Linked DNA regions of Homo sapiens: region 2 is linked to region 1. Evidence: promoter capture Hi-C in human tissues and cell types (Jung and others, 2019). All regions are on one chromosome and are shown on one strand. The core of a region is centred on a gene start or on the middle of the fragment in contact, and the rest is flanking DNA. Distances in the headings are between cores, read along the strand shown. Region 1 holds the start of TMEM42 (transmembrane protein 42). Region 2 overlaps KIF15 (kinesin family member 15).

Region 1 (6,613 bases), core at 2,268-4,767:
CCTTAAAGCCTGTTGTGGGATGGGATACTGGCATTGAGCAGGGTAAGGGTGATTAGGTTTTAATGGGATAGTAATGCGCGTGTGATGGGTTGCCAGGGAGGGAGTGGAGGTGTCCCATACTTGTGGGTTAAGGTGGGGGGGATACGAGAGGAAGACACAAAGGAGGCTTTCGGTTGGGAAGAAGGGTGGCAATGAGATGTGGCTGTAGTCCAGGAATAATCAGGGAAGCAGATAATTTGGTTAAATATTTCAGCCTAATAAGGGAACTGGGCAAGTGGGGATAACTAAAAAGGAGTGCATTAAAGAACGTTGTCCAAGTTGGCACCAGAGTTGGGGAGTTTTAAGAGGTTTAGAAGCCTAGCCGTCAATACCCACAACAGTTATGGAGGCAAGGGAAACAGGCCCTTGAAAAGAAGATAATGTGGAGTTGGTAGCCTCTGTATTGATTAAGAAGGGGATGGACTTATCCTCCACTGTAAAAGTTACCCGAAGCTCGGTGTCCGTGACGGTCCAGGGGGCCTCCAAGGCGATCGGGCAGCATCAGTCTTCAGCTGCTAAGCTGAGAAGATATGGGAAGGAGTCAGTCAGAGAGCCCCGGGCCAGAGTTCCAGGGGCTCTGGGAGTGGCTGCAGGGCAAGCTGGACAGTCTGATTTCCAGTGGGGTCCCGCACAGTTGGGACACGGCTTAGGAGGAATCCCAGGGCTGTGGGCATTTCTTGGCCCAGTGGCCAGATTTATGGCACTTTAAGCAAGCTCCTGTGGGAGGCGGTCCTGGAGGAAAGCCTGGCCACTGCGGTTCAGACGTTTTGAAGTTCTTGTGTGCTGGAGATGTGGCTGGGGTTTCTCTCACAGTGGAGGCAACTAATTGCAACTCAGAAAAACATTGCTACTTGGCTGCCTTTACTCTATTATTGTACACCTTGAAGGCGAGGTTAATTAGGTCCTGTTGTGGGTTTTGAGGGCTGGAATCTAATTTTTGGAGCTGGCGGCTTGGGTGCGGTGGCTCATGTCCGTAATCCCAGCACTTTGGGAGGCCAAGGTGGGTGGATCACTTGGGCCCAGGGGTTCAAGACCAGCCTGGGCCACATGTCAAAATCCTGTCTATACAAAAAATACAAAAATTAGCCAGGCATGATGCACCCATAGTCCCTGCTACTCAGGAAGCTGAAGTGGGAGAATCACTTGAGCCCAGCAGGTTGAGGCTGCAGTGAGCTATGATCCACCACTGTACTCCAGCCTGGCAGACAGAGCAGGACCCTGTCTCAAAAAATACATATATATATAATCTGGGCTTGATGGTACCTGCCTGTAGTCTTAGTTACTCAGGAGGCTGAGCTGAGAGGATGGCTTCAGCCTGGGAGCTCAAGGCTGAAGTGAGCCATGATTACACCATTGCACTCTAGCCTGGGTGACAGAGAGACTCTGTCTCCCTCTAAAAACAAACAAAATTCAGTCTAGCTCTAGACCTAATGAGAATCTTCATCTTAGCAAGATCCCTAGGTGATGTGTGTACACAGGAGTTTCTTAGAGGCAGAAATCACTTCCCAGCAGTGTCTGAGGATGGCATCACTTCAGCCATCATCACCAGGGCTGGGGACCTGGAGATTAACAACGATGTAGTCCCTGCCCTCAAGGAGCTTGCAGGCTAGCAGAGAAACAGACAACCAGAGGAACAACCACAGGACTGGTACAAAGGTAGGGGAGTAGCAGAGACGGCTTTACAGAGGAGGTGGCTCTGAGATGCTTAACCTTTAGTGCTAGTAGAGGCATCGTTTGTTCTAAGAAAATTTGCTTTACATTCTTTAAAGCATGCAGAGTTGATCAATGCAACACCTCTTGATTTCCTGATAAGAGCTTTCAGAGGGTATCATCTTTGAGCAGCTCCTTACTCAATGGAGTGGTGCAGTGAGACCTCTGAGCCTCAATTTCCTCATCTGCAAAATGGGACAGTTTGTACCATATTGGCGTTACTGAAATTATCCGTGTTTTTTTTTGAGACAGAGCCTTACTCTGTCACCCAGGCTGGAGGGCAGTGGTGCAATTTCGGCTCACTGCAACCTCTGCCTCCTGGGTTCAAACAATTCTCTGCCTCAGCTTCCCAAGTAGCTGGGAATACAGGTGCCCGCCACCACACCCAGCTAATTTTTTTTGTATTTTTAGTAGAGATGGAGTTTCACCATCTTGACCAATCTGGTCTTGAACTCCTGACCTCGTAATCCACCCACCTTTGGCCTCCCAAAGTGCTGGGATTACAGGCGTGAGCCACCGTGCCTGGCCTTATCCGTGCTTTTATTTGAGCCACAAAACCACCCTGTGAGAGAAGCAGCATGGTGTGGAAGGACTTCCATAAAAACTTGCTAAACAGAAGATACAAAAAGAATGCTGCTAAACAGTATGTTCAACTGTGAAATCATTTTTGTTTAAAAAATGCATATACATATTCTATAATTTTTTTAACATTTTAACTATATATAACTAAATAGACATATAGAAAAATGCTCTATTAACACTGATTTTCCTGGAGAGTGGAAATAGCACTTTATACATTTCAACACTTTATTTTCAAGGACGTGTACTTTTTAAATGGGAACATTTTATTTTTATTTTTATTTTTTGAGACGGAGTTCACTCTTGTTGGCCAGGCTGGAGTGCAATGGCATGATCTCAGCTCACCACAACCTTCACCTCCCAGGTTCAAGCGCTTCTCCTGCCTCGGCCTCCCGAGTAGCTGGGATTACAGGCATGCACCACCACGCCCGGCTAATTTTGTATTTTTAGTAGAGACGGGGTTTCTCTATGTTGGTCAGGCTGGTCTCGAACTCCCGACCTCAGGTGATCCACCCGCCTCGGCCTCCCAAAGTGCTGGGATTACAGGCATGAGCCACCACGCCCAGCCGGAAACATTCTAAACATACGTAAGTATAACAGGAGATTAGAAGTCATGTTGATTCTGCGTGGCTTGATTATGGATCATTGTCTTCCTCTCATCGCAGATCCTCATTTTTTCGGTTTTCTGTGATGCGCTTGTCCCCATATGGGGCTCTGGCGTCTTTCTGGGTCTGGAGGTCCCCAGCGCCCTCTGCCGAGGCATCTCTTGGTCCGGCGGTCCTCAGGCTGGAGGGTGGAGCGGAGAAGCCTGGTCGACGTGGATGGACTCGGTGGGCCGGCGCGGGGCCCGTTAGGCATCTTTAATAAGTTTCACCGGGAGCCGGGTGGCCGGGATGGAGACGGCTAAGCCGCGAGAAGTTTACCTTCTACCACAGCGTCCACAGTACCCGGCTTGGCCTCAGGCCTCGGGTCCCGACGTCCTCCCCAGAGCACAAACCTACTACAGGTTAGGCCGGAGGCCGCCACAGCCCAGGGTCTCTGCCACCTGGCCCGCCCCCTCCGAGGCGCCGGAGAGCGATTCCCAAGGGGCCTGCCGGAGCGTGGCGTCACAGGAGCGTCGCGTCACGTGAGGCTGCCATCCAATCGCGGCGCGCGCTCTGCCCTGCGGGCAGCGGGTGCCAGGCACGGTGTCAGCAGGCAACATGGCCGAGAGGCCGGGGCCTCCGGGCGGCGCCGTGTCCGCGACCGCGTACCCTGACACCCCCGCGGAATTCCCTCCGCACCTCCAGGCGGGTGCGATGCGGCGCCGCTTTTGGGGCGTATTCAACTGTCTGTGCGCCGGCGCGTTCGGGGCCCTGGCCGCCGCCTCCGCCAAGCTGGCCTTCGGCAGCGAGGTCGAGCCCGGGGCGCTGTTGGTGCTGCTGCTGCGGGCGGGCGGGCGGGGCGCCGCTGGGCGGAGGAGGGGCGCTGCGGGGCCCGCGGGGCTCTTGGGGTGGGGCGGGGGTGGGCGCAGGGCGCCGCCGCACCCTCGCCGGTCTGTCCCGCCGGGGCCCCGGGCCGCGGGCGGCGCTGCGGTCAGCTGGGGTGGCAGAGAGTGTTTCGCCTCTAATCACGCCAAACCCTCGTCCAGTGTAGGTGGTAAGAGACGTCGGGGACTGAGGCCTCTTCCCTTACCAGGGACCTAAAACCTTTTCTCCGGTTGGGCTAGTTCGCTCTCGGGGAAGAACTACACCTCCTACATCCACCCTCTACCTCTCATTTTAAGTCCCTTGTGCCTGAGCATTTCTCTCCACGTGACTCTTAAGGTGAGAAGCCTCTTGCCCATCCCTTTACTCCGTAATTAACGGGTGTTGTGACCAGATGACCAGTCTGCCCCACTACCAGGAAAATTGGGAGTTTGGGATACTGTAGGCATAAGAGGATACTGACAGAGACGTTCTGGATGTTTTCCTGACGCTGAGAACTCCTAAACTTGCATCCTGGCGTCTGCTAAGGTGTATCTCTGCCTCTCCCTCCCACGTCGTAGACCAGCCTCTGCTTGCTATAGGGGTTTCATTGCGTCTGCAGCCCAAGGTTAGCCTCTGACCTGGACAGTGGTCACTGATTATTTAGGGTTAAGCCTATTTAGGGCTAATCCAGTAGTAGCTGCCATGCTTCAGGTTAGTATCCCATTGGGTGTAGTTCATGGGGTAAGTGGTCGAAAGTAAAATGAATAACTTTGTATGGGCCGTGAAGTTTGTTGTCAGGAACTAGACCTTCATAACCCTTTAAGCAGGTTGCCACTGGCCCATATGCTGCTTTGTGTAAGACAAGGTTGTCCAACTCGCGGCCCAACGCAAATTTGCAAATTTAAAACATGAATTTTTTTGCGATTTATTATTTTTTTTTTAGCTCATCATATATCATTAGTGTTAGTGTATTATATGTGTGACCCAAGACAGTTCTTCCAGTGTGGCCCAGGGAAGCCAAAAAATTGAACACCCTGGTGTAAGTTATAAGCAAGCACCTTTTTCTCAAGACACTATGTGTTCAGCTGCTGAGAAACCATTACAAGTAATAAGTATATTTAGATTCCGCACCCCCCCCCCCCGCCGCCTTGTCTCCAGGCAGGTTTCTAACTCACCACCAAGCAAGGGGGACTGCATATCCTTTGTGTAGGAGGCTTCTAAAGATCTTCTCTTCTCTTGAGACTTTCTCCTTTAAAAAAAAAGAAAGAAAATACCTGCAAGTTCTCCAAGGGATGTCTGGGATCACTAAATAGTCTGAGGTGGTGTTTCCCTCAGGCAAGGCTGTGCCCTAGTTAAGAGCATGGAGGTACACTGCCTGCTTGTGAAGCCTGGTGGCTCTCACCGCTGTAGCACTTTAGGAAGGTTACTTAATGCCCCTGGCTCTTTATCTGTAAAATGAAGTTAAGGAATAAATGAGAATGCTTAAACACAGCCCAGGACCTAACACAGAGTAAAAGCTCAAGAATACCCAGAGGGGGTCAGCCTTAGTGGGCTGTAACTTGTATAGGATTTGGGGGTGGGAATACAGAGCAGACATTGCTAATTCATGCTTTGCCTGATCTCAAGAAATAAGAACTCTACCCTAGGCTTACTACCTACGGAGTAAGAACTACTTGGCCCTCTGGGACTGATCTTCAAGCACTGGTCATTGTGGGACCAATAAGGGGCCGGTGTTCAGTAGAAAATACTGGCTTTGGATTAGCATTTTGCTTCTTCCCAAGATCATATGGCCAGCAAGGTGGCCAAATGAGTATCTTCTCTGAATTTGCTTTATTTGTAAGATGGGTCTGCTGCCCACTGAGGGTTAAGTGAAGCCCTGTGCAGGAAAGCTCTGAGGCCCTCTGAGCTGTAGTGGGAGCTCAGTAGGAGCCTGGGTGCCAGCAACCACAGTCCTGGGTGTGCTTTGAGGGGGTCTGCAGGTTGCTGCCCAGGGTGGACGTGGCTGCAGTGACACTTTCTCCTGCAGGTGAGCATGGGTTTATGCGTCTTAGGCATTATTGTGATGGCGAGCACCAATTCTCTGATGTGGACCTTCTTTAGCCGGGGCCTCAGTTTCTCCATGTCTTCAGCCATTGCATCTGTCACAGTGACTTTTTCAAATATCCTCAGCTCGGTGAGTAGCCTGAGGGTGTGGTGCTCTTGTCCTAAATCTGGGTTCTGGGTGAGTTGTCTTTGGATAACCCCTCCTTTCCCAGACAGGAGAAAGGACAGGAACTGAAGCAGAGGTTGGGCTGTGGCTTGACCCCTGGATGAGTGCTCTATTCATGGAGCAAATGTAATTCTAATCATGGAAGAATTCTTAAGTTAGATATGAGTGAAGCCTGACAGTAAAAAGCCTACTTGCTTGCTGTTCCTCCAGGGTGGAGCCCTCATTCTGAAGTCACTGTGCATCCTAGCTGTTTCCTAGGGTTCTGTGTACTCAAGGCTCCATGGCATTTAGAGGGTTGGGATTCCCAGAAACTTTTCTGCCCTGTGTAGTCTGAGGTTGACAAGATGGAGCTGAGCGTAGTCAATCTTGAGTTGAGGGAGAAACAAATACCATGTACCTGCTGTGTCTACCTGCTGGCATCTGCTGGGTCTTTCTTGTGTACTTTGCTGAGGTCCAGTGCAGTGAGGGAGGTAGCCTCTCCACTCATGCAGGGGAGATTGAATAGAGTGACTTGATGAAGGTGACAGCTAGGTTTCAAGCCCAAGGCTTCTGGCTCCAGACCTTTCCTCCTGGCACCCTTAGAAGGAAGTCAGTCCCAGGAGAGTGAGGTTGTGCCCACCTGCTGAAG
Region 2 (7,313 bases), core at 4,071-6,570, 49 kb before region 1:
GTGAGCCACCATGCCTGACCAGAATTTTTTTTTACTGTTGCTTTTTAAAAAAGGTGGTCTTTGAAGTTTTTGTAAGAAATTATTGAAAAATACTTGCAGAATACTGCCAAATGTTTTATAATTCTGTGTCTGTAGCCCCTTAGCACAATGGAATTATAGAGCTTGAAGCACCACGGCATTCTCGTCCTACTTCTTCCTTTTATGACTGAGCAAACAGGACTCAGAGGATTAGGTTTGCCAGGAGGGGCATAGCAATTCAGAGTCTTTGTTGTTGTTTTAGTTGGACAACTACTATATGAATACATTCTCTTTGTTTAAAAGAAAGACACATATTTCAAGTTAAAGTTAAAATTCCTTTTCAGCATCACTTCCAATCTGGATCTAATATAATCCTTTGTCCCCACAATCCCTGGAGGTAGTTTAATCCTTTTTCTTAGCATTTTTGTACTGTTAATATATACAGACTGAGAAAACACATAGAGTTGTTTCCTAGATTGTGTATTGTTTTGCTTTTTTTTTTTTTTTTAAAAAAAAACGGTCATTCTTCATGTGTTATTCCACAATATGCTTTTGTTAACTCAGGGATATGCCTTAGATCTTTCCACATTAACTGGTACCTAGAGCCTCATTTGGATGTGAGGCTCAAGGAATATGAGCCTCATACCAGTTAACGTGAGGCTCAAGGGTTATGAGCCTCATACCAGTTAATGTGGAAAGATCCAAGGCATCTCCTTTGAGGGACAGAAGAATTATAGAGCTTGAATTATAGAGCTTGAAGCACCATGAGGGATATCCCCTTGGGGGATATGCCTTGGATCTTTCCATATTAACTGGTACCTACCTCATTTTAACCCTAGGTTTCTATGGCTTAAGTAGATGGTTTCCAGTGCGTGCATTCTCTGGGGGTGGATTCCGTTAAAGGAGAAGTGGTCATTTTAGGATGTCTTAGCATTTGAGTGAGTCAAGCTGAAGCTCCCTCCTAGTGCCCTGTTCCCGCAGCATAGATGCATAGATGCACTCCTTTCCCAGCACTGTCCGCAGGAACTGGGATTGTCATGCTTGTTAATGTTTGACCATCTGATGGGTAAAAAATGAGATCTTGTTGTTAAGGTTTTAATTCTCATTTCTCTAATTTCAAATATCTTTTCATATGTTCATGTCCATTTGTATATCCTATTCCCTGAAAAGAAAAACTATTGTTTTTTTATATTTTTCTTCAGATTTTGTTTTTATGTAATAAGCATTTGTTTGTTAGGTGTACTGCCAATATATTCCTCCATCATGTTGCTTGTCTTTCATCTTTGCATGTGATGCTTTTGTTATATAGAAGTTTTATATTTTTGATGTAGCCAGGTTTATTGACCTTTTATCTTTATGACTTTTTTGCCTTTAATTTTGCTTTACATTGAGGTGTTTGTGTATCCACTGTTTTTCTTTTGAATGGTATGAGAAAGGGATTTAACTTAAAAAAAGTAATACAGCTAGGCATAGTGGCTCACACCTGTAATCTTAACACTTGGGGAGGCAGAAGCAGGAGGATTGCTTGAATCTAGGAGTTCAAGACCAGCTTGGGCAACATAGTAAGACCCTACCTCTGCAAAAAAAAAAAAAATTTAAATTAGCCAAGCATGGTGGTGTGCACCTTTGGTCTCAACTACTCCTGATACCTAAAATTTCCACAGAAAGATTATTCTATTTCTGGGCGGGGTGTGGTGTCTCACGCCTGTAATTCTAGCACTTTGGGAGGCCAAAGCGGGCAGATCACTTGAGGCCAGGAGTTGGAGACCAGCCTGGCCAACATGGTGAAACCCCATCTCTACTAAAACTACAAAAATTAACCAGGCATGGTGGTGTGTGCCTGTAGTCCCAGCTACTTGGGAGGCTGAGGCAGGAGAATTGCTTGAACCTGGGAGGCAGAGGTTGTGGTGAGCCAAGATTACACCACTGCACTCCAGCCTGGGCAACAGAACAAGACTGTGTCTCAAAAAATAATAATAATTCTATTTCTGGACTTTGTATTTCCTCCCAGTGTTCTATTTGAATGTACATAAGCTAATGTACTGTTTTAATATAATGTACTGTAATGTAATGTACTATTTTAATGACCATACTCCCATACCCCTATGTATTTTTATATCAGATGGGGAAGTCTTCCTAATTTGTTCTTTTTATTTTTATTTTTTTGAGAGACAGGGTCTCAGTCTGTCACTCAGGCTGGAGTGCAATGGTGTGATAATAGCTCACTGCAACCTAGAACACCTGGGCTCTGGGGATCCTCCTGCCTCAGCTTCCCAAGTAGCTGGGACTACAGGCCTGGGACACCATGCCCAGCTAATTAAAATGATTTTTTTTTTTGGTAGAGACAGGATCTCACTATGTTGCCCAGCCTGGTCTTGGACTCCTGGCCTCAAGTGATCCTCCCCTTCTCAGCCTCCCACGGTGTTGGGATTATAGCCATGAACCACCATGCCTGGCTTGTTCTTTTTAATTGTCTTGTCTCTTCTTGTACATTTATTCTTTGTATGAAAATAGATATCAGCTCATTAAGTTTATTTTTAAAAATTGTATTAGAATTTTGCTTGGGACTGCATTGAATTGATAAATTTATTTCCACTTGGGCATTTTTGTACTGTGTCTCAAGGGTACTTTTTCCTTTCTTTTCATGAATAGTATTTCAATTTTATCCTCTCTATTCACAAAATTATTAAATATGCCCTTTTTAAATATGTGCTAATGTTTTCCATAATCATTTTTTGCTGCAGATTATAACTACACCAACCAAGGCCTACCAACTTCATTCCCGACCAGTACCAAAATTAAGCCCTGAAATGGGAAGCTTTGGCTCTCTATACACTCAGAATTCTAGCATATTAGATAATGATATATTAAATGAGCCAGTTCCTCCTGAGATGAATGAACAAGCTTTTGAGGCCATTTCTGAAGAGCTTAGAACAGTGCAGGTAATGTTTTGTTCTAGAAAAAATAAATAACTGGACATCCATTTAAATACATTTGCTTTGTTATTTTAATTCCCTATAAGTTACAGTGTTCAAAAGTGCTTAGTATTAAAATCATATCTTTTTAAGTGTGGGTTTATAATCATTCCTAGATTGGAAATCAGCCCACTCTTGCTTTTTGTCTCTACTTTACAATCTTTAGCAAGTCATTCTCCATGGGTTTTTGTTCCTTAGTGTATAAAATGACCAGTTGGCCACTAGCTCCAAGTTCCAGAACTGGTTTATATAGCAAAGTGCTGTATCTGCTAAAAAAAGTTAAAAGAGGCCGGGTGCGGTGGCTCACGCCTGTAATCCCAGCACTTTGGGAGGCTGAGGCAGGCATATCACGTGAGATCAAGAGTTTGAGACTAGCCTGACCAACATGGTGAAACCCCGTCTCTACTAAATAGACAAAATTAGCCGGGTGTGGTGGTACATGCCTGTAATCCCAGCTACTCGGGAGGCTGAGGCAGGAGAATTGCTTGAACCCGGGAGGCGGAGGTTGCAGTGAGCCGAGATCGCGCCACTGCACTCTAGCCTGGGCAACAAGAGTGAAACTCTGTCTCAAAAAAAAAGAAAGTTAAAAGAATCTTATTATAGATCAAATTTTAGACAGTTTTTAATATATTTGAAATAATGTGAAATTTGATTATTCCAGAATTTTTATGGTTTGTTAATTTTTTAAAAAGGTTTTCTACTGTCCAGTAAAAGTTGGAGTGGGCCAGACCACCCCAAACCCCAGTATTTTGTCCTTTCCAGGCCATGGAGGTAACCGCTTGCAGCCCTGAGGAAGCTTCTTAGAAGTCTCAAGATGGCTCTGTCATGTAATCCAGGATTTTAATTTTAATCACTTCTTTCCTTTGTATTTCAAAGTGTCTACTTTAATGGACCACAAGTGTAAATCTGAAACATTAGCAATCATTTAGTATATAACCTTTTGATGATGTTTTCTGGCTCCAAACAGGCCTTTGATACCTTTGTTCATATGAGGTTTTGAATTTGTTTTGTTTTGTTTTGTTGTCTCTTTAATGCAGACGAAATGGTGGAATGTTTGAGAATTCCATTAAAATAAATTTTGATGACTGAAGTTTTTGTGTTGCAGGAACAAATGAGTGCTCTTCAAGCCAAACTGGATGAAGAAGAGCATAAAAACCTAAAGCTTCAGCAGCATGTTGACAAACTGGAACATCATTCTACCCAAATGCAGGAGGTGAGACCAAGAGCACAGCCTCAGAAAATGTATGAAGTACCCTCAAATGTTACCTTGAGGAAACATCCTCAAGGATCCTCAAACATCCTTGAGTATGCATGAAACATATTCAGAGAGTATCACAGAAAGAAAATGTTGTCACATGGCCTTAGTGAAGGCTTATTTGAGCTGTATTCTCTACCTTGTTACTTAGCATGCTGCTCTGATAATGAGACAGGCATGCATAGTCTAAACCTGGCTGACTTAGTCAATAATGCAAATGGATCCCTTGCTATGTGTTTAGAAGAAACCAAGATGGACTGTCCATGGCTTCATAGTTGTTAATCATCTTTACTGTAGTTCATGGGGACAGCCAATTTTCTTCTGGTCAGAGACGTTAAAGCTAGACTTTAAAAACAGGGACAGGTTAATGGGGCCAGGCACAGTGGCTAACACCTGTAATCCCAGCACTTTGGGAAGCCAAGGCAGGTGGATCGTCTGAGGTCAAGAGATCAAGACCAGCCTGGCCAAGGTGGCGAAACCCCGTCTCTACTAAAAATACAAAACTTAGCTGGACGTGGTGGCGTGGGTCTGTAGTCACAGCTACTCAGGAGGCTGAGGCAGGAGAATCACTTGAACCCAGGAGGCGGAGGTTGAAGTGAGCCGAGGTCGCATCACTGCACTCCAGCCTGGGTGACAGAGCAAGACTCTGTCTCAAAAAAAAAAAAAGAAACAGGTTAATGATTTGGAGTGCATCTTAGCATGCCAGTATTCCTTTTCCAGTAAATTTATCTTTTTTCCCAAAGCTTTTCTCATCAGAAAGAATTGATTGGACCAAACAGCAGGAAGAGCTTCTCTCACAGTTGAATGTCCTTGAAAAGCAGCTTCAAGAGACTCAAACTAAAAATGACTGTAAGTTATTCTATCAGGAGCTTTGTGACTTGAAGGAATACTGTAACTCAATATCTTTTTACTTTTATTAATAAATGCTGTTCCTATGTTTTTGGATGGTTGCTTTGTTGTTGTTGTTTGTTTGATAACCAGACTGCAGTTTGCATGCAGTGGTAAGTAACAGTAATATATCATAAAAGGTAAATTTCTCTATCATTGCCCACAAACAAATGATACAAATGTTTGCTTAAAGTTTTTTGTTGTTTGTTTGTTTTTGACACAGACTCTCGCTTTGTCACCCAGGCAGGAGTCCAGTGGCATGATCTTGGCTCACTGCAACCTCCACCTCCCGAGTTCAAGCGATTCCCCACCTCAGCCTCCTGAGTAGTAGCTGGGATTACAGGAGTGCATTACCATGCCTGGCTAATTTTTTTTTTCTTTGGTCATTTTTTTTTTGTTTTGTTTGTTTTGTTTTTTTTTTTTTTGAGGTGGAGTCTTGCTTTGTCACCCAGGCTGGAGCGCAGTGGCGGGATCTCGGCGGCTCACTGCAACCTCCAGCTCCTGGGTTCAAGCAGTTCTCCTGTCTCCTCCCAAGTAGCTGGGATTATAGGCGTGCACCACCAAGCCCGGCTAATTTTAGGAGAGACACGGTTTCGCCATGTTGGCCAGGCTGGTCATGAACTCCTGACCTCAGGTGATCCACCCACCTCGGCCTCCCAAAGTGCTGGGATTACAGGCGTGAGCCACTGTGCCCAGCCTGCTTAAAGTTTTAGATAAGCTGCTTTGAAAATGAAGTGTCTTGAATTCATGAATGTTTTAATATTAACAAAGCGTAGGTTATATATTTGTATATGTTTGTAGATGTGGGAATATCATTTGATTCCCAATTTTTTCACTTTATTTTTCCCTTCATTAAAGTATTTGCAGTGGTTTGTAATAAAGCTAAAACAAAAAGAGATAGCCATTCTATTTTCTTTGAACTAAAAAGTTAACTAATACTATTTGCAGTTGTAGTTGTCTTAGAAGACCTGAAGTAGTTAACCCATGTTGGAAAGTTTAGGCAAATTTCCAAGGGATTTTCAATAACTAAGATGAGCTCACTCAAAATATGTTACATCTTTTAATTTTTTTTTCTTATATTAAGAGTTTTGTTTGTTTGTTTGTTTTGAGACAGAGTCTCACTTTGTCACCCAGGCTGGAGTGCAGTGGGTGCAATCTCGGCTCACTGTAACCTCCAACTCCCAGGCTCAAGCGATCCTCCCACCTCAGCCTCCTGAGTAGATGGGACCACAGGTGCTCACCACCACAGCCAGCTAATTTTTTGTATTTTTGGTAGAGACAGGGTTTTGCCATGTTGCTCAGTCTGGTCTCGAACTCCTGACCTCAAGCATTTCGCCTGCCTCAGCCTCACAAAGTACTGGGATTATAGGCATAAGCCACTGTGTCTGCCCTTATATTAGGAGTTTTGAAGCACATTTTACAGGAGAAATCTAGCAAAGTCAAGTGACCTGTAAGTCAGGGACAGATGTTAATGCTTTCTATTTCAGTAGAAATTTACGAAAAACCATGTGCAAGGGAGAGGAAGAAAATAGAAATCTCAGTGCTGCTAGGTACCCGCCACTTAATTCTTTAACATTTTTCCTTAAAATAGTCTCTTCGACTTGATTTTGCTAATTGTGGGACTAGTACCTATCAGATTTATTTGTCTGCTTTAAGAAACCTACTGAGGATATGTTTTCTTTGTTTTTTAGTTTTGAAAAGTGAGGTACATGACCTGCGAGTAGTCCTTCATTCTGCTGACAAGGAGCTTTCTTCAGTGAAATTGGAATATAGTTCATTCAAAACGAATCAGGAGAAAGAATTCAACAAACTTTCCGAAAGACACATGCATGTACAGCTTCAATTAGATAATCTCAGGTAGAGTTGTTCTTTTATGGTTTCAAGTTGCCTGATTGGCTGTAACCTACGACTGTTTGAAGTTGGAAGTGTTATAAACTCAACTCAAAGCAGTTAGACAAATAAAAAAGATAATTTATTGGCTCCAATATTGGAAGCCCCAGAGGTGATTTTGGTTTCAGGAACAAACTAGTCTGAGTCTCAAGCAATATTGTCAGTGTTCTATCTCTCTCAGCTATGCTCAGTTCTATGTGTTGCTCTTATTCCCTCCTATTACTGAGGTCCTTCTTCTATGTGACAAGGAACAGATTGCCTCACACAGCTCCATATTTTGGTTCCCA

The links. The method cuts DNA at HindIII sites, captures the fragments that hold promoters and counts their contacts. A contact is called where the count stands out against the background at its distance.
Region 2: a contact is called between a fragment that was not itself captured here and the fragment with the promoter of TMEM42 in region 1, in 4 of the 25 tissues and cell types used here (heart right atrium, mesenchymal stem cells, psoas muscle and 1 more).

The regions. Positions count from the first base shown.
Region 1 is chr3:44,858,395-44,865,007 of GRCh38, forward strand. It overlaps TMEM42 (transmembrane protein 42), which reads left to right and starts at 3,518. Exons shown (of 3, transcript NM_144638.3): 1 at 3,518-3,722; 2 at 5,803-5,949. The coding sequence starts at 3,531. It overlaps MIR564 (microRNA 564), which reads left to right and starts at 3,494; the gene lies at 3,494-3,587. It also overlaps a transcript of KIF15 not described here. RefSeq lists an enhancer at 2,978-3,567 and silencers at 3,598-3,647, 3,978-4,027. The HindIII fragment of the contact is 28,079 bases long and covers 1-6,613 here.
Region 2 is chr3:44,808,084-44,815,396 of GRCh38, forward strand. KIF15 (kinesin family member 15) reads left to right here. Exons shown (of 35, transcript NM_020242.3): 17 at 2,763-2,960; 18 at 4,099-4,206; 19 at 4,992-5,097; 20 at 6,828-6,993. Among named protein-coding and RNA genes, the nearest start is that of KIF15, 50 kb to the left of the region's middle. The HindIII fragment of the contact is 4,882 bases long and covers 2,880-7,313 here.